Regions from separate parts of the Homo sapiens genome. Here regions 2, 3 and 4 are each linked to region 1. The links are contacts of gene promoters, found by promoter capture Hi-C in human tissues and cell types (Jung and others, 2019). All regions are on one chromosome and are shown on one strand. The core of a region is centred on a gene start or on the middle of the fragment in contact, and the rest is flanking DNA. Distances in the headings are between cores, read along the strand shown.

Region 1 (6,540 bases), core at 1,912-4,411:
TTAGGGGGAAACCTTAGATATTTTAATTTACCTTCTCTCTGGATAGTAGTGTTGTAAGAGAGCAGAAACCCATACTTGAAAATGTGCTTTTCTTTTTTGTTTTCTAGGATGGGTTTGTGGAGTTCTTCCATGTAGAGGACCTAGAAGGTGGCATCAGGAATGTGCTGCTGGCTTTTGCAGGTGTTGCTGGAGTAGGAGCTGGTTTGGCATATCTAATAAGATAGCCTTACTGTAAGTGCAATAGTTGACTTTTAACCAACCACCACCACCACCAAAACCAGTTTATGCAGTTGGACTCCAAGCTGTAACTTCCTAGAGTTGCACCCTAGCAACCTAGCCAGAAAAGCAAGTGGCAAGAGGATTATGGCTAACAAGAATAAATACATGGGAAGAGTGCTCCCCATTGATTGAAGAGTCACTGTCTGAAAGAAGCAAAGTTCAGTTTCAGCAACAAACAAACTTTGTTTGGGAAGCTATGGAGGAGGACTTTTAGATTTAGTGAAGATGGTAGGGTGGAAAGACTTAATTTCCTTGTTGAGAACAGGAAAGTGGCCAGTAGCCAGGCAAGTCATAGAATTGATTACCCGCCGAATTCATTAATTTACTGTAGTGTTAAGAGAAGCACTAAGAATGCCAGTGACCTGTGTAAAAGTTACAAGTAATAGAACTATGACTGTAAGCCTCAGTACTGTACAAGGGAAGCTTTTCCTCTCTCTAATTAGCTTTCCCAGTATACTTCTTAGAAAGTCCAAGTGTTCAGGACTTTTATACCTGTTATACTTTGGCTTGGTTTCCATGATTCTTACTTTATTAGCCTAGTTTATCACCAATAATACTTGACGGAAGGCTCAGTAATTAGTTATGAATATGGATATCCTCAATTCTTAAGACAGCTTGTAAATGTATTTGTAAAAATTGTATATATTTTTACAGAAAGTCTATTTCTTTGAAACGAAGGAAGTATCGAATTTACATTAGTTTTTTTCATACCCTTTTGAACTTTGCAACTTCCGTAATTAGGAACCTGTTTCTTACAGCTTTTCTATGCTAAACTTTGTTCTGTTCAGTTCTAGAGTGTATACAGAACGAATTGATGTGTAACTGTATGCAGACTGGTTGTAGTGGAACAAATCTGATAACTATGCAGGTTTAAATTTTCTTATCTGATTTTGGTAAGTATTCCTTAGGTTTTTCTTTGAAAACCTGGGATTGAGAGGTTGATGAATGGAAATTCTTTCACTTCATTATATGCAAGTTTTCAATAATTAGGTCTAAGTGGAGTTTTAAGGTTACTGATGACTTACAAATAATGGGCTCTGATTGGGCAATACTCATTTGAGTTCCTTCCATTTGACCTAATTTAACTGGTGAAATTTAAAGTGAATTCATGGGCTCATCTTTAAAGCTTTTACTAAAAGATTTTCAGCTGAATGGAACTCATTAGCTGTGTGCATATAAAAAGATCACATCAGGTGGATGGAGAGACATTTGATCCCTTGTTTGCTTAATAAATTATAAAATGATGGCTTGGAAAAGCAGGCTAGTCTAACCATGGTGCTATTATTAGGCTTGCTTGTTACACACACAGGTCTAAGCCTAGTATGTCAATAAAGCAAATACTTACTGTTTTGTTTCTATTAATGATTCCCAAACCTTGTTGCAAGTTTTTGCATTGGCATCTTTGGATTTCAGTCTTGATGTTTGTTCTATCAGACTTAACCTTTTATTTCCTGTCCTTCCTTGAAATTGCTGATTGTTCTGCTCCCTCTACAGATATTTATATCAATTCCTACAGCTTTCCCCTGCCATCCCTGAACTCTTTCTAGCCCTTTTAGATTTTGGCACTGTGAAACCCCTGCTGGAAACCTGAGTGACCCTCCCTCCCCACCAAGAGTCCACAGACCTTTCATCTTTCACGAACTTGATCCTGTTAGCAGGTGGTAATACCATGGGTGCTGTGACACTAACAGTCATTGAGAGGTGGGAGGAAGTCCCTTTTCCTTGGACTGGTATCTTTTCAACTATTGTTTTATCCTGTCTTTGGGGGCAATGTGTCAAAAGTCCCCTCAGGAATTTTCAGAGGAAAGAACATTTTATGAGGCTTTCTCTAAAGTTTCCTTTGTATAGGAGTATGCTCACTTAAATTTACAGAAAGAGGTGAGCTGTGTTAAACCTCAGAGTTTAAAAGCTACTGATAAACTGAAGAAAGTGTCTATATTGGAACTAGGGTCATTTGAAAGCTTCAGTCTCGGAACATGACCTTTAGTCTGTGGACTCCATTTAAAAATAGGTATGAATAAGATGACTAAGAATGTAATGGGGAAGAACTGCCCTGCCTGCCCATCTCAGAGCCATAAGGTCATCTTTGCTAGAGCTATTTTTACCTATGTATTTATCGTTCTTGATCATAAGCCGCTTATTTATATCATGTATCTCTAAGGACCTAAAAGCACTTTATGTAGTTTTTAATTAATCTTAAGATCTGGTTACGGTAACTAAAAAAGCCTGTCTGCCAAATCCAGTGGAAACAAGTGCATAGATGTGAATTGGTTTTTAGGGGCCCCACTTCCCAATTCATTAGGTATGACTGTGGAAATACAGACAAGGATCTTAGTTGATATTTTGGGCTTGGGGCAGTGAGGGCTTAGGACACCCCAAGTGGTTTGGGAAAGGAGGAGGGGAGTGGTGGGTTTATAGGGGGAGGAGGAGGCAGGTGGTCTAAGTGCTGACTGGCTACGTAGTTCGGGCAAATCCTCCAAAAGGGAAAGGGAGGATTTGCTTAGAAGGATGGCGCTCCCAGTGACTACTTTTTGACTTCTGTTTGTCTTACGCTTCTCTCAGGGAAAAACATGCAGTCCTCTAGTGTTTCATGTACATTCTGTGGGGGGTGAACACCTTGGTTCTGGTTAAACAGCTGTACTTTTGATAGCTGTGCCAGGAAGGGTTAGGACCAACTACAAATTAATGTTGGTTGTCAAATGTAGTGTGTTTCCCTAACTTTCTGTTTTTCCTGAGAAAAAAAAATAAATCTTTTATTCAAATACAGGGTGTGATATGGGTCTTTTCTCATCGACGCCTCTTTTTCCTTCCCTCTCTTAGGCAAACCTTTTAGAGAAGTCAGCTGAGCAAATATGTACAGGTGAATTCAAAGCAAAAGCCTCACAAAGTTGATTTGCCTTAGAGCAAAGGACAGTTCCTTTCTTCAATTCTAATTAGAGGTGTTGGGTTTTTAATTAAATATATTACTGCTGTACTTAGAGGAGTTCTTAAACCTCCAAGTAAAATCAAAAACCTCTTTAAAATCAAAATTTCTGTCTTGATTTATTTATTTATTATTTTTTTTTTGAGATGGAGTTTTGCTCTTGTTGTCCAGGCTGGAGTGCAATGGCACGATCTCCGCTCACCGCAACCTCCGCCTCCCAGGTTCAAATGATTCTCCTGCCTCAGCCTCCTGAGTAGCTGGGAATACAGGCATGCGCCACCACACCCAGATAATTTTGTATTTTTAGTAGAGATGGGGTTTCTCCGTGTTGGTCAGGCTGGTCTTGAACTCCCGACCTCAGGTGATCTGCCCACCTCTGCCTCCCAGAGTGCCAGGATTACAGGCGTGAGCCATCGCACCCAGCCTCTGTCTTGATTTTTTTGAATCACCAGGTGTTGGTATGTTTTGTTTTGTTTTGTTTTGAGGCACAGTCTCACTCTTTTGCCCAGGCTAGAGTGCAGTGGGGCAATCTCGGCTCACTGCAACCTCAGCCTCCCGAGTAGCTGGGATTACAGGTGCCCGCCACCATGCCCGGCTAATTTTTCTATTTTTGGTAGAGACGGGGTTTTGCCGTGTTGGTCAGGCTGGTCTTGAAGTCCTGACCTCAGTGATCCACTCGCCTCAGCCGAAGTGCTGCGATTACAGACCTGAGCCACTGCGCCCAGCCTTGATCTTGAGGTAAGAGGGTACTGTACAGCAGTTACTCTATCATAACACCTAAATAATACCTAAAGTTAAAGAGTTTTGATGAAGTTCTTGGCAGCAGTGCTTTTCCCCTTCTGCTTTCCAAAAGGAGGTAAAAAGAAGCCAGTCAATTTCAAAAACCCCTATCCTGCTTTTATTTTCAGCTACCTTGAAAGTGAGCTGAATCACCATGGAAATGTGCAAATGTGAGGTTTGCATACTTGGTTTTAAGCCCTGAGCACCATATGCTAATCAGGCAATCAGGATTCTGTGCCTCCCTGCAGTCAGTTGCATTTCTATTTAAAAGTGCATTTTGGTTTGGAAGCCCCTTTCTGGAGCCTAACTACCAAAAGGCAGCAACTTTTTGTATCATTACAAAGAAAGCTGTGTAAGTGCACTCCCAAGCAAAGGTGTGGTAGGAGAGTAGCAGCCACAGAGGACCCAAGCCCAAGTCTTGGCCTGAGTTAAGTTAGTGCTATTGCTCCCATTGACGTGCTATGATGTGAAGCCGTTTCTGGTACAGTGTTCCTTTGCTCAGCACCTTAAAAGCTTGGATTTAATAGTAACTGGGTAACCTTAATCAGTAGTCAGAATTATCAACACTTTGCTTTATTTGACACAACCAGACTTTCTCAGTTCCTGTTCTGTATCTAGAGCAACGTCTTCATACTGTTTTTTCACAAAATTTTTATTTAAAACAGTTGTGACAGCCGAAGGATTTTTTTTTTTTTTTTTACAAAATTAAAATGAAATAACTTGTACAACTGGTGCGTACCATGGCTCCAGCCAGATGCCCAAAGCACTGGCTATTAATTCCTGGAGTTCAGATGGTCAGTTGAGTCTATCCTAGTTTTTTGCTTCACTTGTTCAATCATGGAACTTTCTAGAACGCTGCCACTCTTCAAAGGCTTCTCAATTTCAAATTTGAAAACTTAATTCTCTCCCTCTTAGTTTCAAAGTTGTTACAGTGTTATCTATGTGAAGTATGTGGAAAGTTGGGGGCTGGGGATTTTCCTCCAGGCAGATTAAGAAACAGCTCTCCGGGTCGGGCGCTGTGGCTCAGGCCTGTAATCCCAGCACTTTGGGAGGCTGAGGCAGGAGAATCGCTCGAACCCGGGAGGCGGAGGTTGCAGTGAGCTGAGATCATGCCATTGCACTCCGGGGCCTGGGCGACAGAGCCAGACGCTGTCTCAAAAAAAAAAAAAAAAAAAAGGCACGGTGACTCACACCTGTAATCCCAGCACTTTGGGAGGCCAAGGTGGAGGGATCATGAGGTCAGGAGTTTGAGGCCAGTCTGGCCAATACAGTGAAACCCCATCTCTACTAAAAATAAAAAAAATTAACTGGGCATGGTGGCGGGCGCCTGTAATCCCAGCTACTTGGGAGGCTGAGGCAGGAGAACCACGTGAACCTGGGAGGAACCCCGGAGGTGGAGGTTGCAGTGAGCCGAGATCGTGCCACTGCACTTAAGCCCAGGTGACAGTGTGAGACTCTGTCTCAAACAAAATAAATACCTCTCTAGTGAGGTGGCTCACGCCTGTAATCCCAGCACTTTGGGAGGCCAAGGCGGGCTGATCACTTGAGGACAGAAGTTTGAGACCAGCCTGGCCAACACGGTTAAACGCCACTACTGGTGGCGGGCACTAGTAGTCCCAGCTATTCAGGAGGCTGAGGCAGGAGAATTGCTTGAACCCAGGAGGTGGAGGTTGCAGTGAGCCAAGATCATGCCACTGCACTCCAGTCTGGGTGACAGAGCGAGACTTCCTCTCAAAAAAAAAAAAAAAAAGGCCAGGGGCGGTGGCTTATGCCTGTAATCCCAGCACTTTGGGAGCCCAAGGCGGGCAGATCACCCGAAGTCAGGAATTTGAGACCAGCTTGGCCAACATGGTGAAACCCCGTCTCTACTAAAAATACAAAAATTAGCTGGGTATGGGGTCACGCGCCTGTAGTCCCAGATTGCAGTGAGCCAAAATCACACCACTGCACTCCAGCCTGGCGACAGAGCGAGACTCCATCTCAAAAAAAAACACCTCCGAAAATTTGGTGTCCTTTACTAATAATTCTTGGGAAGTAGAAAAAGGATATACGTAGCAAGCTTTTGTTCCCACACTATACTTGGTTTCTAATTTGCAGTTCCCTTCTTGACCTGCATAGAATAATAGTTATTTTCCATTGGGAAATGAGAAATCTTCAACATTGAGGTAAGTTAGGATTTTTTTTTTTTTAAGAGGTGGGGTCTCACTCTATTGCCCAGGCTGCAGTGCAGTGGGACTATCACGGTTCACTGCAACCTTGAACTCCTGTGCTCAAGCAATACTCCCACCTCAACCTCCAAAGTAGCTGGTACTACAGGTACCTCACCATGCCTTGTGTTTTGTTTTGTTTTGTTCATAGAGATGGGGTCTTGCTATATTGCCCAGGCTTGTCTATTTAGCAGGAGCTCTAGGCAGCCAGATGTTGAGAGTGTCTTCATTTTTCCATTACATGACAGTAGACTGCTTATTATGTATCATGAACTGTTAGATAATGGAATTATAAAGAGATCATTCTTCCCCTTAAGAAACTCAAAAAAAGAGGCCGGGTGCGGTGGCTCA
Region 2 (6,621 bases), core at 1,380-3,879, 620 kb before region 1:
CACTAGAATTTTTTTTTTTTTTTTTGAGATGGAGTCTCACTCTTGTTGCCCAGGCTAGAGTGCAATGGTGCGATCTTGGTTCACTGCAACCTCCGCCTCCGGGGTTCAAGTGATTCTCCTGCCTCTGCCTCCTAGTAGGTGGGATTACAGGCACCCGCCAACGTGCTCGGCTAATTTTTGTATTTTTAGTAGAGATGGGGTTTCGCCATGTTGGCCAGGCTAGTCTCAAACTCCTGATCTAAGGTGATCTGCCCACTTCAGCCTCCCAAAGTTTTGGGATTACAGGTGTGAGCCACCACACCCGGCCAAGAACACTAGAATTTATTCCTCCTATCTAAATGTAATTTGGGGCCAAGCGAGGTGGCTCACACCTGTAATCCCAGCACATTGAGAGGCTGAGGAGTGGGGATCACTTGAGCTCAGGTGATCACCGTGGGCAACATGATGAAATCTCATCTCCACAAAAAGTACAAAAAATTAGCCAGGCGTGGTGACACGAGCCTGTAGTTCCAGCTACCCACGAGGCTGAGGTGCGATGATCACTTGAACCCAGGAGGTCGAGACTGCAGTGAGCAGTGATTGCATCACTGTATTCCAGCCTGGGTGACAAAGTGAGATCCTATCTCAAACAAACAAACAAACGAACAAACAAATGTAATTGGGGGCCAGTGTGGTGGCTCACAGCTGTAATCCTAGCACTTTTGGAAGCCAAGGTGGGAGGACAGCTTGAGCCCAGGAGGTCAAGGAGGCAGTGAGCCATGATCCTGCTGCTGCACTCCAGCCTGGGCAATAGAGACCCTGTCTCAAAAAAAATTGTAATTTTGTGTCTTTTTTTTTTTTCTTTTGAGATGGAGTCTTGCTCTGTTGCCAGGCTGGAGTGCAGTGGCACAATCTCAGCTCACTGCAACCTCTGCCTCCCGGGTTCAAGCGATTCTCCTGCCTCAGCCTCCCTAGTAGCTGGGACTACAGGTGCGCGCCACCACACCCAGCTAATTTTTGTATTTGTAGTAGATACGGGGTTTCACCATGTTGGCCAGGATGGTCACAATCTCTTGACCTCGGGATCTGCCCGCTTCAGCCTCCCAAAGTGCTGGGATTACAGGTGTGAGCCACTGTGCCAGGCCCAATTTTGTCTTTTTTTTTTTTCTGAGACGGAGTCTTGCTCTGTTTCCCAGGCTGGAGAGCAAATGGCGCGATCTCGGCTCACTGCAACCTCCGCCTCCCGAGTTCAAGCAATTCTCTGCCTCAGCCTCTCGAGTATCTGGGATAACAGGCGCCCACCACCACGACCAGCTAATTTTTGTATTTTTAGTAGAGATGGGGTTTCGCCATCTTGGCCAGGCTGGTCGTGAACTCCTGACCTCATGATCCACCCCCTTCGGCCTCCCAAAGTGCTGGGATTACAGGTGTGAGCCACAATTTTGTGTCTTTTAACAAATCTTTCCCTGTCCCTTCCTTCCCCCTGCTCTTCCCAGCCTCCAGTATCCTCTGTTCTTTCACTTCTATGAAATCAACTTTTTAAAAGCGTCACATATGAGTGAGAACATGCAGTGTTTTAACTTTCTGTTCGTGGCTTAAGTCAGTTAACATGTCCTCCAGTTCCATCCATGTTGCTGCAAATGACAGGATTTTCTTCTTTTTAATGGCTGAAAAGTATTCCATTGTGTATATACACCCTATTTCCTTTATTCATCTGTTGTTGGACACAGAGATTGATTTCCTATTTTGGCTACTCTAAGTAGTGCTGCAATAAATATGGGGGTGCATAAATATGGAGTGCAGACGTCTCTTGGATATACTGATTTCCTTTTTTTTTTTCCTCCTAAATTGGCTTCCTCAGGTTGAATTATGTCCTTTCCTTTGGATAAATGTCTATGGCTGTGTTTTTAACCACAATACTATGCTTCCTTCCTCAAGGATTTTTGACTTTATCTTGTAGATGATGTGGAGCCATTAAAAATGTTTGAGGACAGGAGTGGCAAAACGTGGGTTTTTAGAAAGTTTCCTACTAGCAGCAGTGTAGAAAATGGACTGGAGCGGAGAGAATGACCTCTTCTAAAAGAAAATGTGAGCTGGGGGCGCAGGCTTATGCCTGTAATCCCAGCACTTTGGGAGGCCGAAGCGGGCGGATCACCTGAGGTCAGGAGTTCGAGACCAGCCTGGCCAACACGGTGAAAGCTGTCTCTACTAAAAATACAAAAATTAGTTGGGCATGGTGGCGGGCGCCTGTAATCCCAGCTACTCGGGGGACTGAGGCAGGAGAATCGCTTCAGCCCGGGGGACGGAGGTTGCAGTGAGCCGAGATCGTGCCACTGCACTCCAGTCTGGCGACAGAGCGAGGCGAGACTCCGTCCCTACGGAAAAAAAAAACCATATATATATATAAAATAAAAATAAATAAAATAAAATGTGTTGACTTAGGGTTATGGGGGTCTTCGTACCACCAAGTGGACTCATTGAGCAAGGGAGATCGCTGGGTACTAGAGCAAGCGGCCTAGAGCATCCGCGCAGGAGTAGGAGAGGCTGAAGAGTAAAGAGGGTTTAGAGGGTGGGACTGGGAGTCTCTCGACACTCTGTTACTTCTGCCTGTAAACGCCCGACTTCCGCCGCTGGTGGCCACCCGCAGGTAGTGATGTCGAGCGTCGAGCTCCCAAAACCGAGCTGGTGAGGGGCTGCAGGTGGCGGCGCAGTCTCGGTAGGCGGTATGAGTTTGGCTGGGGGCCGGGCACCCCGGAAGACCGCTGGGAACCGGCTTTCTGGGCTTTTGGAGGCAGAGGAGGAAGATGAGTTCTACCAGACGACTTATGGGGGTTTCACAGAGGCAAGATCCGGGCCTGGGAAAAGGGAGGGGAGGAGGCAAAGAGGAGCCCTGAAGGGAGAAACCCCGGACAAAGAAGAAGAGGGCGGGGAATAGAGAGGAGCTCTGGGAGCTGATACTCGAGTTGGGTGGGTGAATCGGAGCCGGGGGGCGAGGCGGGGGAACGGATAGTGTGGAGTCCTAGAAGGGAGAGCTCTGGATGGGGTCAAAGGGGCCTGAGACGGAGAAGCTCTCCGGAGGCACTCCAGAGAACAGAGAACGGCAGAAACCTACCGTATACTTGCGTGGTTGCATCTTTCACTGTACTTCTGACGTCCAGCATACACGAGGCACACACATAGTAGTAGACAGTTGCTCGATGTATACTCGTTGGCCCACTGCTGGATTATTCACCTGAGACATGGAAAGGAACCGCTCCAAAAGTAGAGGAGCTTAGCCCACTTCTTTTTCAGCTTTCAGGTCTCAGTGTAAATGTTTTCTCAGGAAGATAACCCTTCCTTGACTATCCTAACAAGTGTCCCCATTTATTTCTTCCACAGAACATATTTCAATTTGCAATTAGATTTGGTTTGCTTACTTGCTTATGCTTTTCTATTGCATTGTAAACTGTATAAAGTTAGAGATGGTCTGTTTTGTTCAACATTATGTGTGAGGTGTCCGGACTGGGCTGCCACTTGCTAAATTTTTATTAGTTGAATCTACCCGTTTATTAAATGTGTTGAGTACCCAGAGCATGCCATCGGTAATAGGTTGTTTTAGGCTCTAGGGAAACAGAATATTAAAAACAGTGCTCTGTCCTTACATACTCCATGCCCCAGTGGGGTAACTGCCTGGGTTAACAGTTAAAATACTGTGTGATAGGCCGAGCACAGTGGCTTTGGCCGGGCACAGTGGCTCACGCCTGTAATCCCAGCACTTTGGAAGGCCGAGGCGGGTGGATCACAAGGTCAGGAAATCGAGACCATCCTGGCCAACATGGTAAAACCCCCTGTCTCTATTAAAATACAAAAATTAGCCAAGCGTGGTGGTGTGCGCCTATAGTCCCAGCTACTCAGGAGGCTGAGGCAGAGAATCGCTTGAACCTGGGAGGAGGAGGTTGCAGTGAGCCGAGATCGTACCACTGCACTCCAGCCTGGGCGACAGAGCAGGACTCCGTCTCAAAAACAAACAAAAAATGTGTGATAAGGACTAAAACAAGGTGTAAGAGTGTTAAGGTAATACATCTGAACCAAAGTTGTTGATCAGGATAGGCATCCCTGGAGGGATGATGTTTAAGCTGAGGACAGTTTGAAAAGTAGACCTTAGCTTGATGAAAAGCAGGAGAAGGAGAAAGGTTAGTCCACAGAGCAGGATGGGCTGAGTATGTAAAGACATTGAGATCCTGGTCTAGGACCTGCAAGTCTACTTTCATTCTCCAGAGCATGAAGGAGACTAAAGATTGATAAGCCTGCAGGGAGTAGGCATGGGCCAGATCCTTTAGGGCCTTGTGAGCTATGTTAAGGAATTTTGCTCTTCATCCAGAGGACTGAGAAGAGTCATCAGAATTCCACGATGAAATTTGTACTTTAGGAAGGTTACTTACTCTGTAATGAGAATGGCTTGAAGGGGGCATGGCAGTAGAGAAACAGAAAGATTCAAGAGAAATTAAGGAATAGAACCCACAGGACTTAGGGGCTGGGTGTGGTGGCTCACGCCTGTAATTCCAGCACTTTGGGAGGCTGAGGCGGGTGGATCACGAGGTCAGGAGTTCGAGACCAGCCTGACCAACATGGTGAAACCCTGTCACTACTAAAAATGCAAAAAATTAGCTGGTTGTGGTGGCGTGTGCCTGTAATTCCAGCTACTTAGGAGGCTGAGGCAGGAGAATCACTTGAACCCAGGAGGCAGAGGTTGCAGTGGATTGCGCCACTGCCCTCCAGCCTGGGCGACAGAGTGAGACTCTGTCTCAAAAAAAAAAAAAACCCACATCACTGACAGAGTCATTACTGACACAGCCCTAACCAACTAGTTTAAAATAGAACTTTCTCATCCCTCCTCTAAGGCCATTTTCCTATTTCTGTCATTTTACGACTTGTTATTTAATATGTACCCTTCATGCTTCCAAAAAGGATTTAAGGAGGCTTACAATATAAACAAAAAGTAGGAACAGTAAAAATAGAGACAGATCAGAAGTAATTGTACCAGGAACCTCTGCTAAAATGGTAATAGCAATTGATATTAAATTTAGTTGTGAGCTTCCTGGTAGCCAAACCTTGTATTTCTTTTTTTAGTAAGAAAGAAGCATACAAGTTCTTCAAGAGACACAAACTTTTTCAGCCTTAAATCCTAGGGAGCATTTATCATTATATCCTTATATTATAAAAAGTAATGGTTTTCATAGATGATATACAAACATTCTCTTTTCTAGTGATGTCTCTTAATGACTCTCAATAAAAGCCGAAGGAATGGTAGTAAATCCTTAATTTAGTGCAAGTATGTTGATTGGGCACTAAGCTAATGTGTGGTTGATCTACTACCCTCTGGTGATATGGCTTAATACCAGATTAAAGCTGAGGGGATTAATGTGTTCCCAGGCTGTCTTTTACAAACATCAGTTAGGAGGAAATGATGGTCATCAGTGCAAAATTGAACTCTGGCTGGCTTGGAGTGTCAGCCATCTGTGTTATTTGCTTGCTTTGGCATCATGTGTACCAAGATTAGCCCATTAGTCTGCATCACTGATTGAAGAGAGAACCACATATGTGAGGTGTCAGCCAGCCCAGTTGACTCCCTCTCCCTCAAGTGGCTTTTTTCCCTTTTCTTTATAATATGGCTGCCATTCTAGCCCTAACCAGTTCACCTGAGGTCTAGGCTGTACTTCACGTTCTCTACTCCAGGCCATCTAACTGCCCCCAGAGCTTTCTGAAATACCCATTGTACATACCATTACCCCTCCCCTAAATCTTCAGTGGCCCTCCATTATCCATAGTAGCAGTACTCAGCTGTTTTTCTGTCCCAACACGCCTGAGGAATGACACATATTTCTCTCAGTAACTTTAGTTTACCTCAACAATGATTATCAATGGTAGGGAAAATAAGGAGATGGAGGGGATTGAGAATCACTGGCCTGCAGGTTAAAAGCGTGTTTATTAGTGTGACATTTAAGTTTCTCCATAAATGGAATGCAACCTTCTTTTCAAATCATACAGTCCTACAGTGCAATCAGTGTTGGAAGGAGGCAGTGCTGGAGCCAAATGCAGTTGGCTAACAAGGTTTCTTGACAGAGAAAAGTTTTACTTAGATCTAAATCCTTATTCCATAAACATGCTATACACATTACCATTTCTGTGCCTTTGTTTCTGCTATTTCATCTGCCCATGATTCCTTCCTCCCTCTTGGCTGTCTAAATACTAACAGTGTTTTCAATCATAGTTTAAGTCCTCTTCATCCTTTTTTTTTTTTTTCTTTTTGAGACTGTGTCTCGCCCTGTCGCCCAGGCTGGAGTGCAGTGGCACTATCTCAGCTCACTGCAACCTATGCCTCCTGGGTTCAAGCAGTTCTCCTGCCTCAACCTCCCAAGTAGCTGGGACTACAGGTGTGCGTCACCATGCCCAGCTAATTTTTGTATTTTTAGTAGAGACAGAGTTTCACCATGTTGGCCAGGCTGGTCTCGAACTCCTGGCCTCAAGTGATCTGCCCACCTCGGCCTCCCAAAGTGCTGGGATTACAGGCGTGAGCCACCAAGCCTGTTCGAGATCCACATCTCAAAAAAAAAAAAGTAAGATTATGTCCTCCCCTTTACTGTAAGCCCCTGAAGGTAGAGA
Region 3 (6,380 bases), core at 3,085-5,584, 570 kb before region 1:
GAGTTCGAGACCAGCCTGGCCAACATGGCGAAACCCTGTCTCTACTAAAAATATAAAAATTAGCTGGGCGTGGTGGTGGGCGCCTGTAATCCCAGCTACTCGGGAGGCTGAGATGGAGAAGCGCTTGAACCCAGGAGGTGGAGGTTGCAGTGAGTGAGCCAAGATTATGCTACTGCACTCCAGCCTGGGGCGACAGAGTGAGTCTCTGTCTCAAAAAAAAAAAAAAAAGAAAAGAAAAGAAAAGAAAAGCCATATTAATAGAAGTGAAACTATCCATTCATTAAAAATACATATTTATTAAGCCCCTAGTCTTTGTTAAGAGAAAGAGGGACCTCAGGAGCCAAAAGAAGAAAGCATTTCAAGGAGGGGGGAGTCAACAGGTCAAATGGCACAGAGAGGGCAAAAGGATAAAGACTGAAGAGTTGTTCATTGAATGTGACCAGGAGGTCGTTGGTGGCCTTAATGAGAGCAATCTCAGTGGACTGATGGGGACAAAAACTAAAATGATTGAGAATGAGAATCATGAAAATGGATATAGCAAGTATAGGTAACTCTAGAAGCTTAGTTATGAAGGGAAGAGAAATCGAGTGATGACTGGGTGCAGACAAGGATCAAGAGAAAGTTTGGAATGTTTTCCTTTTAATCATGGGAATTACTTGAGCATGTGTATATGCTAAGGGGAAAATATCAGTAGAAAAGGACAGGTTAAGACTGGGAATGGTGGCTGACGCCGGTAATCCCAGCAGTTCGAGAGGCCGAGGCAGGAGAATCACTTGAGCCTAGGAGTTCAAGACCAGCCTGGGCAACACAATGAGACTCTGCCTCTATTTTTTTTTTAAGTTAATACTTTCTGTGTGCAGGCACTATGCTACAAGGAAAGGATACAGTGTTGAGCAAGATAGACAACCAGGGACTGCATACAACTTACAGTAAAGTCATAGGTGAACCTTCGACAGGTGATACGGATGGCATTCACTAGGATGAGAGAGACATGATGCAGGTAAGTATATCTGTAGGGAGCAAAAAGTTGGTGGAATTCTCACTTTATTATCTCTGTTTTCTCTGAAGACGGATGAGGGTTTTCCTGAGATGAACAAGGAAATGGTAAGGAAAGGAACTTGCAAAAAAAGGAGGAAGTTTGAAATATCTCCCTGGGGATTGGAAGAGAGTGCTTTTCCAATCCAATCTGTGGGACTGTGTGATTTCCTTTTTTTGAGATGGAGTCTCGCTCTGTTGCCCAGGCTGGAGTGCAGTGGTGCGATCTCGGCTCACTGCAAGCTCCGCCTCCTGGGTTCAAGCAATTCTCCTGCCTCAGCCTCCCCAGTAGTTGGGACTACAGGCGCACACCGCCACGCCCGGCTAATTCTTTTTATTTTAGTAGAGACGGGGTTTCACTGTTGTTGCCCAGGCTGGTCTCGAACTCCTGAGCTCAGGCAATCCACCCGCCTCAGCCTCCCAAAGTGCTAGGATTACAGGCCTGAGTCACTGCGCCCGGCCAGGACTGTGTGATTTTCTTCAAAACACTAAGGGAGTAGGAAGAGAGGTTTTTTATTTTTATTTTTATTTTTTTAAGAGTCTCCCTCTGTGTCACCCAGGCTGGAGTGCAGTGGCACGATCTTGGCTCACTGCAATCTCCTGTCACCTGAGTTCAAGCAATTCCCCTGCCTCAGCCTCCTGAGTAGCTGGGATTGCAGGTGCCCATCACCACACCCGGCTAATTTTTTTTTGTATTTTTAGCAGAGCTGGAGTTTCTCCATGTTGGCCAGGCTGGTCTCAGAACTCCTGACCTCAGGTGATCTGCCCACTTCGGCCTCCCAAAGTGCTGGGATTACAGGGGTGAGCCACCTCGCCCAGCCAAGAGAGTCATTTTGATTTGTCCTTCAAAATAGCTCTCAGATTCATGTATTTCTTTCTAAATCTGTTCCCATCACCCTTGTCTGATTGTCCCTCTCCCCTCACCTTTAAACCTTGTTTACTTGCTAGTAGGTCTCTGTCTTCTTGCTTAAAAAAATAAAAAAATACAAGTTGCACCCTTTTTCAAGAATTTAAAATGACGTCCTACTCCTGTCAGATGATTTTAACCAGCTCACCTAGTCATTCCAGGCCTTCTGTAATTTGTCTTCCCCTTTTCCCTCCCCTTGCTCCTAACTAGTGCCTTTCCCACACACCAGCCTCACAGGACCTTTTTTTTATCCATGCTGCAGGCTCCTTGCTAACCAAGTAAAAGCTTTTGCTGAAGCTGTGTCCCTCGGGAACATTTTCTTCTTTTGCACCAAGCCAACTCCCACCAAAGTTTTCCTGTCCTTCATGATAAAATGTATCCAGCATCTTTCTGTGCAGTCTTCGGAGAATATTTATTGTCTTCTTTGCACATTTGGAAATTTATGTTCAATGTAGCTTTTCTTTTGAGACTTGGTGTTGTCTTTTTAATAGTTTAGTACTATTAAATATTTAATATTTAGTACTGTCTTTTTAATAGTTTAGACTTTTTAATAGTTTAGTATGTGCAAATCTTATTTTAATTCAAATATATTATCATTTTCTTAAAGTCTGGAACCACAACCCACAGTGGATTGTGTAGTAGATTGTGTCTCAAGTAAGTGTTTAATACTTACTGGATTGAACTGAGATTTGAGCTGGGTCCTAAAACTTTAAATGAATTACACCTTAATCCCCACTCACTAATCTATTCCATAAGCATGTATCTGAGTACCTAAACCCTGTGCTAGGAGCTGAGGAGATTTCTTTTAACCTCTCAGTGCCTCTGTATTTTGAGGTGTCTTTCTCTGAAAATTTCTTTCCAGCCTTTAAAACAACCCCAACTGTCTGACAGTTTGTTGAATTGCCTTGGACCCAAGATCCCTCGGCCGTTAATTCTGTGTAGATATTGTCCCTGTTTATCTTCTTCTATTTTTTTTAGATCTGACTTTACTGAGTTACTGTTCATCTTACTGGTTCACCTGGCCTTAAATCTGTCTCTCTGTCTCTCTCTTTCTCTGTATGTGCGTGTGCACATGTGTGTGTATGTTTAGGTCTCTTGTGTACTCGCTGTGGGGCTTAGCCTAGTTGTTGATACTCCCCTCCCTGATCACAGTCCAGTTAAGGCTGGCCTAAAGTGGCAAACCCCTTCCCCCTCCTTTCCTCTAGTCCAGAGTCCAAGATGTGGGTAGAAGTGTTCAGTCAGATAAAACTATCTGAGAATGCCAGTGTCTCCCAGGCCACCCACTTTCCTGGAGAATTTTGAGAATGTCTTTTGTCCCAGCCCCACATAGAGAAGAATCCTACCAGGCAATACCAAGGTACCAAGCAATCCTGTCTGTAGTAGTTTATTCTTCCTCCTCACTGACATTCCCAGGGGCTTTATGAAGGGTGGGGAGGGAGAAGGGGCAGTTTTGCTGTTTGGAGGGATGTCACGGTCCTCTGAGGAAAGGTGGGACGTATGTCTGTGGGGCAGGAAGGCTGTGTGGGTTACTTTATCAAGTCTTAGCGTTGCTACTCTTTGTGCCTTTCTCTGAGTCAGTTAGTCTTGATTTCCACATCTGTTTTGGCTTCAGCCTCTCTCACCTGCCCTCTTCCATTACCCAACAGCCTGACTGCTAGCTAGTTCTTGCCATAGTGGCCCAAACTCATGCTGCTTTGTAGAGGTGGGAGGGGAGGAGATCATGGAAACAAGGGAAACCTCCTGCTGACACCTTCCTTTCCTTTCCCAGGCCTCCAGCCCCCACGCGCATGCTAGGCCTCCTTATCCGGGTCAGGACGAACCAGAGGAGGCCTACGGGGAGAAATAAGGAGACAGAGGGACAACGCATAGAGAGGAGCAACAGAGAGTTGGGGGCAGAGTCAGGGAGATGCGGGATGCGCCCTCGGGAGCAAGGTCGCCCAAGCCGTATAGGAGGGGAAGGGAGGACGGATCGCGCAGGCTCTGACAGCCCAGCCCAGCCCCGCGAGGCTCCCAGGTTTCCTGTCTGTTTCTCCTCCCAGCTCCTCTTCCTCTCTTGGGAAATTTCTCCCCAGAGCCTCTCCTGTGCCAGCCTGTCTCTGCTTCTGTATGTATTTCTTCCTCTGCCCGGTGTCGGCGACTGTCCGTGGGTCTCTCCATCTCGCGTCTGTCTCTGGTCTCCAGTTCAGCCTCCCGGCCTGGCCCTCTGGGTGGACGGTGCTCCTGGCGCCCCTCCCCGGGCAGCACTATTGGCGGAGAGGTGACGAGAAGGCGGTGTCTAGCCGCCCTCCGAGGGCGGGATTAGTCGCGGCGACCCAAAGGCGGGCAGGAGGTGGGCCCGGCTGGGAGGCGGGCGGGGCCACTGGGGCCGAGCCCAGAGCCCCGGGCGGTCGCATTGTTTTCCTCCGCGGATCCGCGGCTGGACTTGGACCCAGGGCTCTCCCGACAGCGCCCTGGAACCCAAATTCAAGCACCATCCAATTCGGACGCTCATCGCATCTCGCCTGAGCACAACCACGGATTGCGAACTCAGCGCAGCGCGTGGCCGCTGGCCGCCCGCGGCGATCTCGATCCCGCTGACCCGAATCCTGGAGCAAGTACCCCGGGCAGGGAAGGGGCTGCGGGGAGGCGGGGAGGGAGCAGGAGGGCGCGGCCGGCGGGGGGCAAGCTTCTGAAGCGCTAGGGGACCAGGGAGGTGTCGGCGCCCGGTGTGCCTGGCTGACGGAGAGGGTCAACGAAATTGGGGTGCAGGGAGGAAGGAGGGACAGTGGCCGAGCCCCGTAACTGTACTGGTGAGAGCAGAGTCTGGGCACCTCGTTCAATTGGGCTTTCGTCGAGTCGCATCCCGCTGGACTGGGAAGCGCGAAAAGGGATTATTTGAGGCGCGCTCCGTAGAGAGCGTGGAAAACCTGGCCCCTTGCTTTCCCAGCAAGGAAACTAGGGCTCCGAGACCCACGGAGAACTAGACCCTCCTGACGCCCCTGAAGGGATGGGAAGAGGGACGCATCGTTCCGGACTTTGTGTCACGGGTGCTCCTCTGTCCTTGTGCAAGCCGGAATCTGAGCACCCTCTGAAGGGTTGGCTCGTGCAAAGAGGCGGCGAATGGGGCCCTCGAGCAACATCGGTCCCAGCGCCTATCTCCTTCCTTCAGCCCGCTCGGCCCGGGGCTTTGTTAGACTGAGGTCTCCCAAGGAGGACATCCGAGCTGGCAACTGCCTCCTGAGCCCACGGTCCCCACTGAGCGCCGGCCTCAGGCCCGCCCTCGTCGGTTCTCAGCCTCTGGCCCTGTTTCCCTGGCCTGGGAGACCCGCCTCCGCTCCCCAACCCCCGCTCCTATCCCCTCTTCGTCTGCGCCTGCAGGCCCCTCCAGCCCCTCCTCTCGCTAACGTGGCTCTGGGACCCGGTCCCGGCCCAGACTCTGCTACCGGCCCCTCCTCGGAGCCCCGGATCCGGTGAGGGGGAGACAGGTCGAGCCCCTGGCCCTAGGCCCACCTCTTTTCGAGGCTTTAGACACCTGGATTGTCCTGGTTGGGGGTTGGGTGGGAAGGAGGGTAGGTGCTGAGTGTGGGGCTAAGAGCTAAGAGTGGGGGAAATGGCTTGGAGAAAGGAAAGCTCCGGTTCCACAGGCTCCTTGGCGCGACCCTGCTCCCTCTGAGGAAGGTGGACTGGGGCGGGCGACCAGCCCAAAGGCTTCCTGCTATTGTCCCCAGCCCAGTCTCCCCTTCTCCATCCCTTCCACAGCTCTCCTAGACTCTGGCTGTGACCCCAGCCATTCCCCAGAGGTGGCTTCGGGGCCAGGAGAGAGAAGGGCTGTTTCCTCTTCCCAGCAACGGGAGGATCTGGAAAGGGGAGAGTCGGCCAGGTCTCTCCCATGTGCTTCAGATGGGGTGTGTGAAGCAGCTCGGATTCTTCCAGGGCAGAGTGATCTTTTCTCCAGGCCAGGAGTTGAGGAGCTGACCAGATGCTGCTTCCCAGAAACAGCTACAAGAAGCCCTCTTAAAGGTGTATCATAGTTGAGTCTAGAAGGCCAATGCAAAGGCCAGCCAAGTGTTTGTAGAGGCTGGACTAATCCAGCCTAAAGTGGGGTGTGAGTGTGTGTGTGTGTAGACTGAGTGGAAGGGAGGCACAGCCTGCTCTCTCAGGGAGGAAGGAAAGGGTTGAGGGTGCTTGCTATCAGATCATTTTGCCTGGAAATGAAGAGCATGTAAATGAGATGCAAATTAGCCTCTATTGTCCCTAGCTAAGGCGCTTTTGCTAAGAAGGCTGTTGGATTCTGAGGGCCTTAACATGGGAGTGGTCGCCATGCCCCACAAACTCTCCCAGTGACCCCCTTTGCCAAGGCTAGCCCTGTAGTTCTAGCAGTTTCTAGAAAGGGGCCATCCCCTTCCCCTGCATCTCTGGGCATAAAGCCACCAGCACCTTTGTAACCAAACTATTAAGA
Region 4 (6,797 bases), core at 300-2,799, 590 kb before region 1:
CCCAGCTAATTTTTTACATTTTTGGTAGAGACAGGATTTCACCATGTTGGCCAGGCTGGTCTTGAACTCCTGACCTCAAGTGATCCACCCACCTCAGCCTCCAAAAGTGCTGGGATTACAGGCGTGAGTCACCGCGCCCAGCCAAAATTCTCCTTTTCTTGAAACACTAAGTAACATCTCCAGAACACTAGTATTCCTCAGAATACACACTGGAAAACTCTTTTAGAGCCATCTGTCTCCTTCTGAGCCTTCCTACCTCTGGCTTTCCCGTCCCATACCTGTACTTCCGGCGGCAGCAACTGTTATAGTGGGGAGCTCTGTGCAGAGCACTCTGGGTGATAAGTCGTGTCTGAGTTAGCAGAGGAGCCTGGTAAGGAGATGGGAGACAGAGTCAGAGCCTTCAGCCCTCCGCCCTTCCAGCCTGGTGTGTGCAGCAGGGTCTTGCCTAGAACACACTCTCCACTCTCTGATTACCTCAGCTTTGGTTTCTTCCCTTCTCAATTCATTCTGATGTTTTGGATTCTGCTTTCTTTCCTTTCCCGGCTGCTTCTTGCCATAGAAAAGCTGCAAGCCTGAGGAGAAAGGGAAACAGAATTAAAAGCATAGCACCAAGAGTGGTGTGCAGAGATTTCGAGGGTTTATTCCCCATCCCGTCTTCCCCCTAACTTACTGGACAGATGTTTCTTGCCTGCACGGTGGGCAGTCAGCATGGCCAGGGTGTCCAGTACCGGTCGATGGGGGCAGATGGCACAAGCAAAGCTGAGCAGGGGTAGAGAAGAGGATAAGTGGTCCAGGGGAAGAGGGTTGGGCCCGTCCCTGCCATAGGTCCCACCCTGTCCTAGCAGTCTTTGCAAAACCCAACTCCCTGGTGACCCAATCTCCACTTCTTCCAGTCCTCACTGGCCGCCAAAGAATCCTAGGTACTCCTGCTGTCCTAATTAATAACAAAAGTTTGTTGAAGCCAGGCGTGGTGGCATGCGCTTGTAAACCCAGCTAATCGCGACGCTGAGGAGGCAGGATCACTTGAGCCCTAGAGTTCGAGGGCAGCCTGGGCAGCACCGCGAGACCTCCGTCTCAAAGGAAAAAAAAAAAAAAGTCTATTGAGCCTCTAACCGCAGAACCCTCAGGCTTGAGCCACTCCTTGCTCTTACCGTCCATCCCGAAGCATCAGCGCCTCATCCTCTGGAATGTAACTGGCTAGGAGGTCCCCGACTCTTCTTTTCTGCAGGGAGTAGGGGAAGAAATCCGGACGGGATCAGCGGGATAGGAGAGAGGGGTGGAAGTGAAATTATAGAAATGAGGAGTGAAATGGAATAAGGACCCTGGGGAGAACAGCGATCATAGACCGAAAAAGGAGTCACTACACAGCTCTAAGTCGCCTGGTTCTCTCCTGCACCCCCGAGTTGTTGCCAGAGCAATGAAACAAAGCTCCTTCCCAACCTTCAGGGAGCGACTGAAGCGGCTCCAGATCCTCTCCGCTCACGCTTACTTTGAGCACATTGAGTTGACTCCAATCGTCTCCTTCCCTCTTGAAAGACATCACGACTGTGAGTCCCAGAAGTGATAAATTCTCTGTTCCGGTTTCGCCACTCCTCCAGGCCACCGTAGCAAGAGCGGGACAGCGCCTTCTCTTTTTTCCTTCTCTTCCTGTCGGCCTCCGTACTTCCGGGGACGCACTTCCACGCATGCATTGCGCGATCCGGAAATCCACTCTCTGGTGCTCGGAGGGAACTGCATTTCCTATGGTGCCCTGCGACTCCGCAGACGCGGAGCCTTTTGGGAAATGAAGTCTTTTCTCAAAGACCTTGCCGCTCAACTGGATCCAGGCCCTTGCATCTTGGCGGATCTGAGGCGTTTGGAGGGACAACAACCTAGATGTGGAGCCGAAATTTGAGGGTGTGACCTATCTTATGCGGAGCGGACCTTTGAGGATCTCTGAGTGGAAGGTGTACTACAAATTCTTGCAATCCTCACGCTCTTCGTCTGCGGCGACAGTTCACCTGGGGTGGGCCTGATTTGTTCCTGACTCTAGCAAACAAACCCCGGGACCGGGGAGAGCTGGGATGTTGGAGCGCCCTGAGGCCAGGCTACTTGGGGGCAAACTGAGGAAAGAGTGTTGAGGATTATTTCTAGAGTTCAAAGGTCAGAGGTCAATGTAGCGAGGAGTTGTGGGGGAGTCCAAAGTCGGAGGGGTGCTTAGGGGAGAATTAGGGAGGGACTGAATACTCAAGGGACAGATTTGTGGATAAGTAGCTTGGAGGGAGGAGAAACCGGGAGGGGGCAGATGGCGTAGTGCTGGGGAGGCGGGGACACAGGGGAAGAGAGAGGGGGAAAGGAATCCCCTGAATATTCATTCCCAGACTTCAGGCCTGTCAGTCGCAGTCTCGGTCGTACCTCCCCTAGTTGCAACCTTAGCTGTTGGCAGGGTGAAGAGATGGCTTCCCCGTCTAGACAGCCCCCGCCAGGGGGGTCAGGACTGCTTCAAGGGAGCCGGGCTCGTTCATATGGAAGCCTGGTGCAATCGGCCTGCTCCCCAGTGAGGGAAAGACGCCTGGAGCATCAGTTGGAGCCCGGAGACACCCTGGCTGGACTAGCACTCAAATATGGGGTGACGGTGAGTTTTCCAGGATTGGGGTGAAGACAACAGTCAGGAGGGATTTAGTCCTGAGAAGAATGTAGTGGCCCTTCTAGGTAACCTCCCCTGAAATGTTCCTAATGTGTTGCACTCTGTTCTGCCTTTATCTTTGTTTTCCCATCACAGTGTTGCACAAGTCCTGCCCTACTATTCCAACGGAGAGGAACAGCTCCTATTTTATTATGCCAGACACTGTGCTGAGGGCTTCACATACGTTAGCTCATTTCACCCTCACATCTGTATCAAGTATACATTTATCGTTCCCTTTTGGCAGATGAAGAAACTGAGACTTGGATTGGTTAACCAGTTTGGCTAAGGTCAAATAATGAGCGTCAGATTTGGGATTCAAACAGGTCTGTCTGACTCTATTAACCACACAGAAAATTTTATGTTGAGAGTGATTAAACGTTTACAGCAACTAATGGAGAGCTGATTTTTAGTTCTCAGTTCCTAAAGTGCCCACCTCTCCTTGCTCTTGGTTCCTCCTCAATGCTCTGCCTTCTTTCCAGTAAGGTGGCCTCCTTTGTGCAAAACAGGTACTCTACACCAAGTATTTCAGGTCATGCATGGGGGAAATTGGATAGATGTAAAAATGTACAGCATTGAAGTTGATGGGGTTACTCCCCCTATCCCTGCCCCTGTTTTCTTGTTCCATCTCACTCAAACAAATGTTGAATTTAGCCAACATTTTTATGCTTGCTGTATTTAAAGCACTGTGATAACTTTTCTGGGAGATAGAAACTTAAACTATATGGTTGCTGTCCTCATGTAATTTATGGCCTAATGAGAAATGAACAGGGACACAAATAATGATTACAAGTGACAGAATGTGGTGAGTTTGTAAAGGTATTAACAACGAATAGGGGTCAGGCATGGTGGCTCACCCCTGTAATCCCAGCACTTTGGGAGGCAGAGGCAAGTGGATCACCTAAGGTTACGAGTACGAGACCAGTCTGGCCAACATGGTGAAACCCTGTCTCTACTAAAAATACAAAAATTAGCCGGGCGTGGTGGTGCTCACCTGTAATCCCAGCTACTCAGGAGGCTGAGGCGGGAGAATCGCTTGAACCCAGGAGGGGGAGGTTGCGATGAGCTGAGATCGCACCACTGCACTCCAGCACTCCAGCCTGGGCAACAGAGTGAGACACACACACACACACACACACACACACACACACAAAGATAGGAAATCAGAAAAGATTAAATTTCAGTTGGAAAGGGGCTGTGGTGGGCCAGGCGTGGTGGCTCATGCCTGTAATCCCAGCACTTTGGGAGGCTGAGGTGGGTGGATTGCTTGAGCTCGGGAGTACAGGACCATTCTGGGCAATGTGGTGAAACCCCATCTCTACAACAAATACAAAAATTAGCCGGGCATGGTGGCATGTGCCTGTAATCCCACCTACTGGGGAGGCTGAGGCAGAGGATCACTTGAGCTGGGGAAGCGGAGGTTTCAGTGAGCCGAGATCGCGCCACTACACTCCAGGCTGGGCGACAGAGTGAGACCTTGTCTCCAAAAAAAGAAAGAAAGAAAGAAAGAAAATACGAATACACTATATCTGTAGTTTCTATATTTCATTATCTAATTATGATAATAATTACATAATTATAAGTAATAGTTTTTAAATAAAGCATTAATGAGCCCCTGCTATGTGTCAAGGTCTGTAGGATGCTAATGACTTCCTGGGGATACAGAGACAGCAAGTCACAATCCTTGCCCTTAAAGGACTTATAGGGTTTAGGCAAAGCAGATATTTAAAGAGGTGAATAATATTATAGTAGGGTTATGTATTATTATAGCAATATTTACAGTATGCATTGGGAGCCCTGAAGAAGGTAGCACAAAGGGAGTGATAGTTGATGAATACAAGTTTTCCAAGCAGAGAATGGGATAGTAGGGGGGTGGGAGCATTTCAGGCAGAAGTAACAGCATGAATAAAGTGTGAAAAAGATCATGGAATGTTCAAAGAAAAATAAAAAGTTCAGGATAGCAAAATGTAGAGGTGGCAGAGGGAGATTAATCTAGACATTTCCTTTGGGAGCTGGATTGAGAAAGCCCTTGAATGCTAATTTGGTTTTTATCTTTTAGCCAGTGCGGAGCCATAGGTGGGTAGTGGGTTAATCAGATTTATTTTTTTAGAAAGATAGATGCCAAGAGGAGGATGAGTAGAAATAGAGCGAGGAAGGCCAGTTAAACTGTTGCAATAACCCCAGATGAGAAATACTGAGGGTCTATTTTAAATCTTTGGCAGTAGGAAGGTGAGACCAGATGTGAGAGAGATTTTTGAAGCAGTTTTGTTGACCACTTGGTATGGTGATGAAAGGCAAGTATTAGTTAAGGATGACATTGATGTTTCTACCTTGGGAGGCCAGGCAGATAGATGGTGATGCCAGTCACTATGTCCAGTGATGAATAAATAGGTCAAAATAAATATTTATTAATGACATTGTTAATAGTATAGTGTGAAAAGCATTCTCAGAAGCAGTGAAAAGACCCAGGATTGTCATTCTAGCTCTGTCATTAACTTGATAGATAATTTTAGGAAAGTAGCTTAACCTCTCTGAGCCTCAGTTCCTTCATTTTTATTTATTCATTAATTTATTTATTCATTTATTTTTAATTTTTTAATTTTTAGAAATGGCGTCTCACTATATTACTCAGGCTGGACTCTAATTCCCGGGCTCAAGCTATCCTCCCTCCTCAGCCTCCTGAGTAGCTGGAATTATAGGCATCAGACATTGCGCCTGGCTTGCACAATAATTTTTTAAAATGTAAGGGGGCCCTAAGACCAAAAAGTGTGAAAACCACTCATCTATAGAATAGAAATAATGTCAGCCCTTTGTACTTTAGCTTGGTTGTTATGGAATCAAAGAAGACTCTGTACAGTCACTTTAAAAAGCTCAAGATGTAAGATTGATCATTATTACTGTCCTTAATTTTGGTGACTTTTTTTTTTAAGATGGAACAGATTAAACGTGCAAACCGCCTTTATACTAATGACTCCATCTTCCTGAAGAAAACCCTCTACATCCCCATCCTGACAGAGCCCAGAGACCTGTTCAATGGTTTGGACTCTGAGGAAGAGAAAGATGGAGAGGAAAAAGTACACCCAAGTAACAGTGAAGTTTGGCCACACTCAACTGAGAGGAAGAAACAAGAGACAGGAGCAGGACGTGCCAATGGTGAAGTCCTCCCCACACCTGGCCAGGAAACCCCCACGCCCATCCATGACCTCTCTGCCTCTGATTTCCTTAAGAAGCTTGATTCACAGATCAGCCTGTCCAAGAAGGCTGCTGCTCAGAAGCTGAAAAAAGGGGAAAATGGGTGAGTCTTGAATGGTTCCTTATAAGTTCCTCCCTAGACTCCTCCATCATTCCTGTCTTACCTAACCACAAACACAAGTAAGTAAGGACAGTGCCAACAGAGGCAAGGTGATACCTTTCCCCCATGTGGCCCCAAGATAATGAGCAGAGGTGATGGCTGCTGGCCTGGGTAGAGGCAGTGGAAAACTGGGTTCTGTGTTCTTATTGGAGTCAGACAGTTAACTATTTTTTTTTTTTTTTGAGACGGGGTCTTGCTCTGTTGCCCAGGCTGGAGTGCAGTGGCGCGATCTTGGCTCACTGCAAGCTCCGCCTCCCAGGTTCACGCCATTCTCCTGCCTCAGCCTCCCGAGTAGCTGGGACTACAGGCGCCCGCCACCACGCCCGGCTAATATTTTGTATTTTTAGTAGAGGCGGGGTTTCACCATGTTAGCCAGGATGATCTCAATCTCCTGACCTCGTGATCCGCCAGCCTCGGCCTCCCAAAGTGCTGGAATTACAGGCGTGAGCCACAGCGGCCAGCTGACAGTTAACTGTTTTTACTGCTCTGATCATCCATGAAGGAGCATTAGGGTTAGGATTTATCTAGAGGGTACTGAGACTGTCTTGAAGCAACCAGCTTATGTATTAGAAGATAGCTTTCCATGTACCTCTCACTTGGCCCATTGTCAGGTTCTTCCCTTGATCTGTCACTCTTTCCCCCCTTTCCTCAATTGCAGGGTACCTGGGGAGGATGCAGGTCTCCACCTGAGCTCCCCTTGGATGCAGCAACGAGCAGTCCTAGGTCCTGTGCCGCTGACCCGTACCTCTCGGACCCGGACACTACGGGACCAGGAGGATGAAA

Evidence for each region. The method cuts DNA at HindIII sites, captures the fragments that hold promoters and counts their contacts. A contact is called where the count stands out against the background at its distance.
Region 2: a contact is called between the fragment with the promoter of VPS72 here and a fragment that was not itself captured in region 1, in 1 of the 25 tissues and cell types used here (dorsolateral prefrontal cortex).
Region 3: the fragment with the promoter of SEMA6C here is called in contact with a fragment that was not itself captured in region 1 in 1 of the 25 tissues and cell types used here (dorsolateral prefrontal cortex).
Region 4: the fragment with the promoter of SCNM1 here is called in contact with a fragment that was not itself captured in region 1 in 1 of the 25 tissues and cell types used here (spleen).

Annotation. Positions count from the first base shown.
Region 1 is chr1:150,571,059-150,577,598 of GRCh38, reverse strand. MCL1 (MCL1 apoptosis regulator, BCL2 family member) reads left to right here. Exons shown (of 3, transcript NM_021960.5): 3 at 108-3,041. The coding sequence ends at 224. It overlaps ADAMTSL4-AS1 (ADAMTSL4 antisense RNA 1), which reads left to right and starts at 3,047. Exons shown (of 4, transcript NR_104133.1): 1 at 3,047-3,475; 2 at 3,778-3,940. The HindIII fragment of the contact is 4,214 bases long and covers 1,055-5,268 here.
Region 2 is chr1:151,186,205-151,192,825 of GRCh38, reverse strand. It overlaps VPS72 (vacuolar protein sorting 72 homolog), which reads left to right and starts at 2,629. Exons shown (of 6, transcript NM_005997.3): 1 at 2,629-2,821. The coding sequence starts at 2,705. RefSeq lists enhancers at 2,485-2,544, 2,585-2,654. The HindIII fragment of the contact is 20,238 bases long and covers 1-6,621 here.
Region 3 is chr1:151,144,585-151,150,964 of GRCh38, reverse strand. It overlaps SEMA6C (semaphorin 6C), which reads left to right and starts at 4,334. Exons shown (of 19, transcript NM_030913.6): 1 at 4,334-4,532. It also overlaps a transcript of LYSMD1 not described here. RefSeq lists silencers at 3,857-3,916, 4,127-4,586. The HindIII fragment of the contact is 4,441 bases long and covers 1,395-5,835 here.
Region 4 is chr1:151,160,896-151,167,692 of GRCh38, reverse strand. SCNM1 (sodium channel modifier 1) reads right to left here and starts at 1,549. Exons shown (of 7, transcript NM_024041.4): 1 at 1,490-1,549; 2 at 1,152-1,222; 3 at 671-759; 4 at 475-572; 5 at 279-367. The coding sequence starts at 1,540. It overlaps TNFAIP8L2-SCNM1 (TNFAIP8L2-SCNM1 readthrough), which reads right to left. Exons shown (of 7, transcript NR_144937.2): 2 at 1,152-1,222; 3 at 671-759; 4 at 475-572; 5 at 279-367. LYSMD1 (LysM domain containing 1) reads left to right here and starts at 1,791. Exons shown (of 3, transcript NM_212551.5): 1 at 1,791-2,614; 2 at 5,593-5,957; 3 at 6,673-6,797. The coding sequence starts at 2,435. RefSeq lists enhancers at 1,501-1,550, 897-1,603, 1,571-1,850, 1,604-2,309. The HindIII fragment of the contact is 12,820 bases long and covers 1-6,797 here.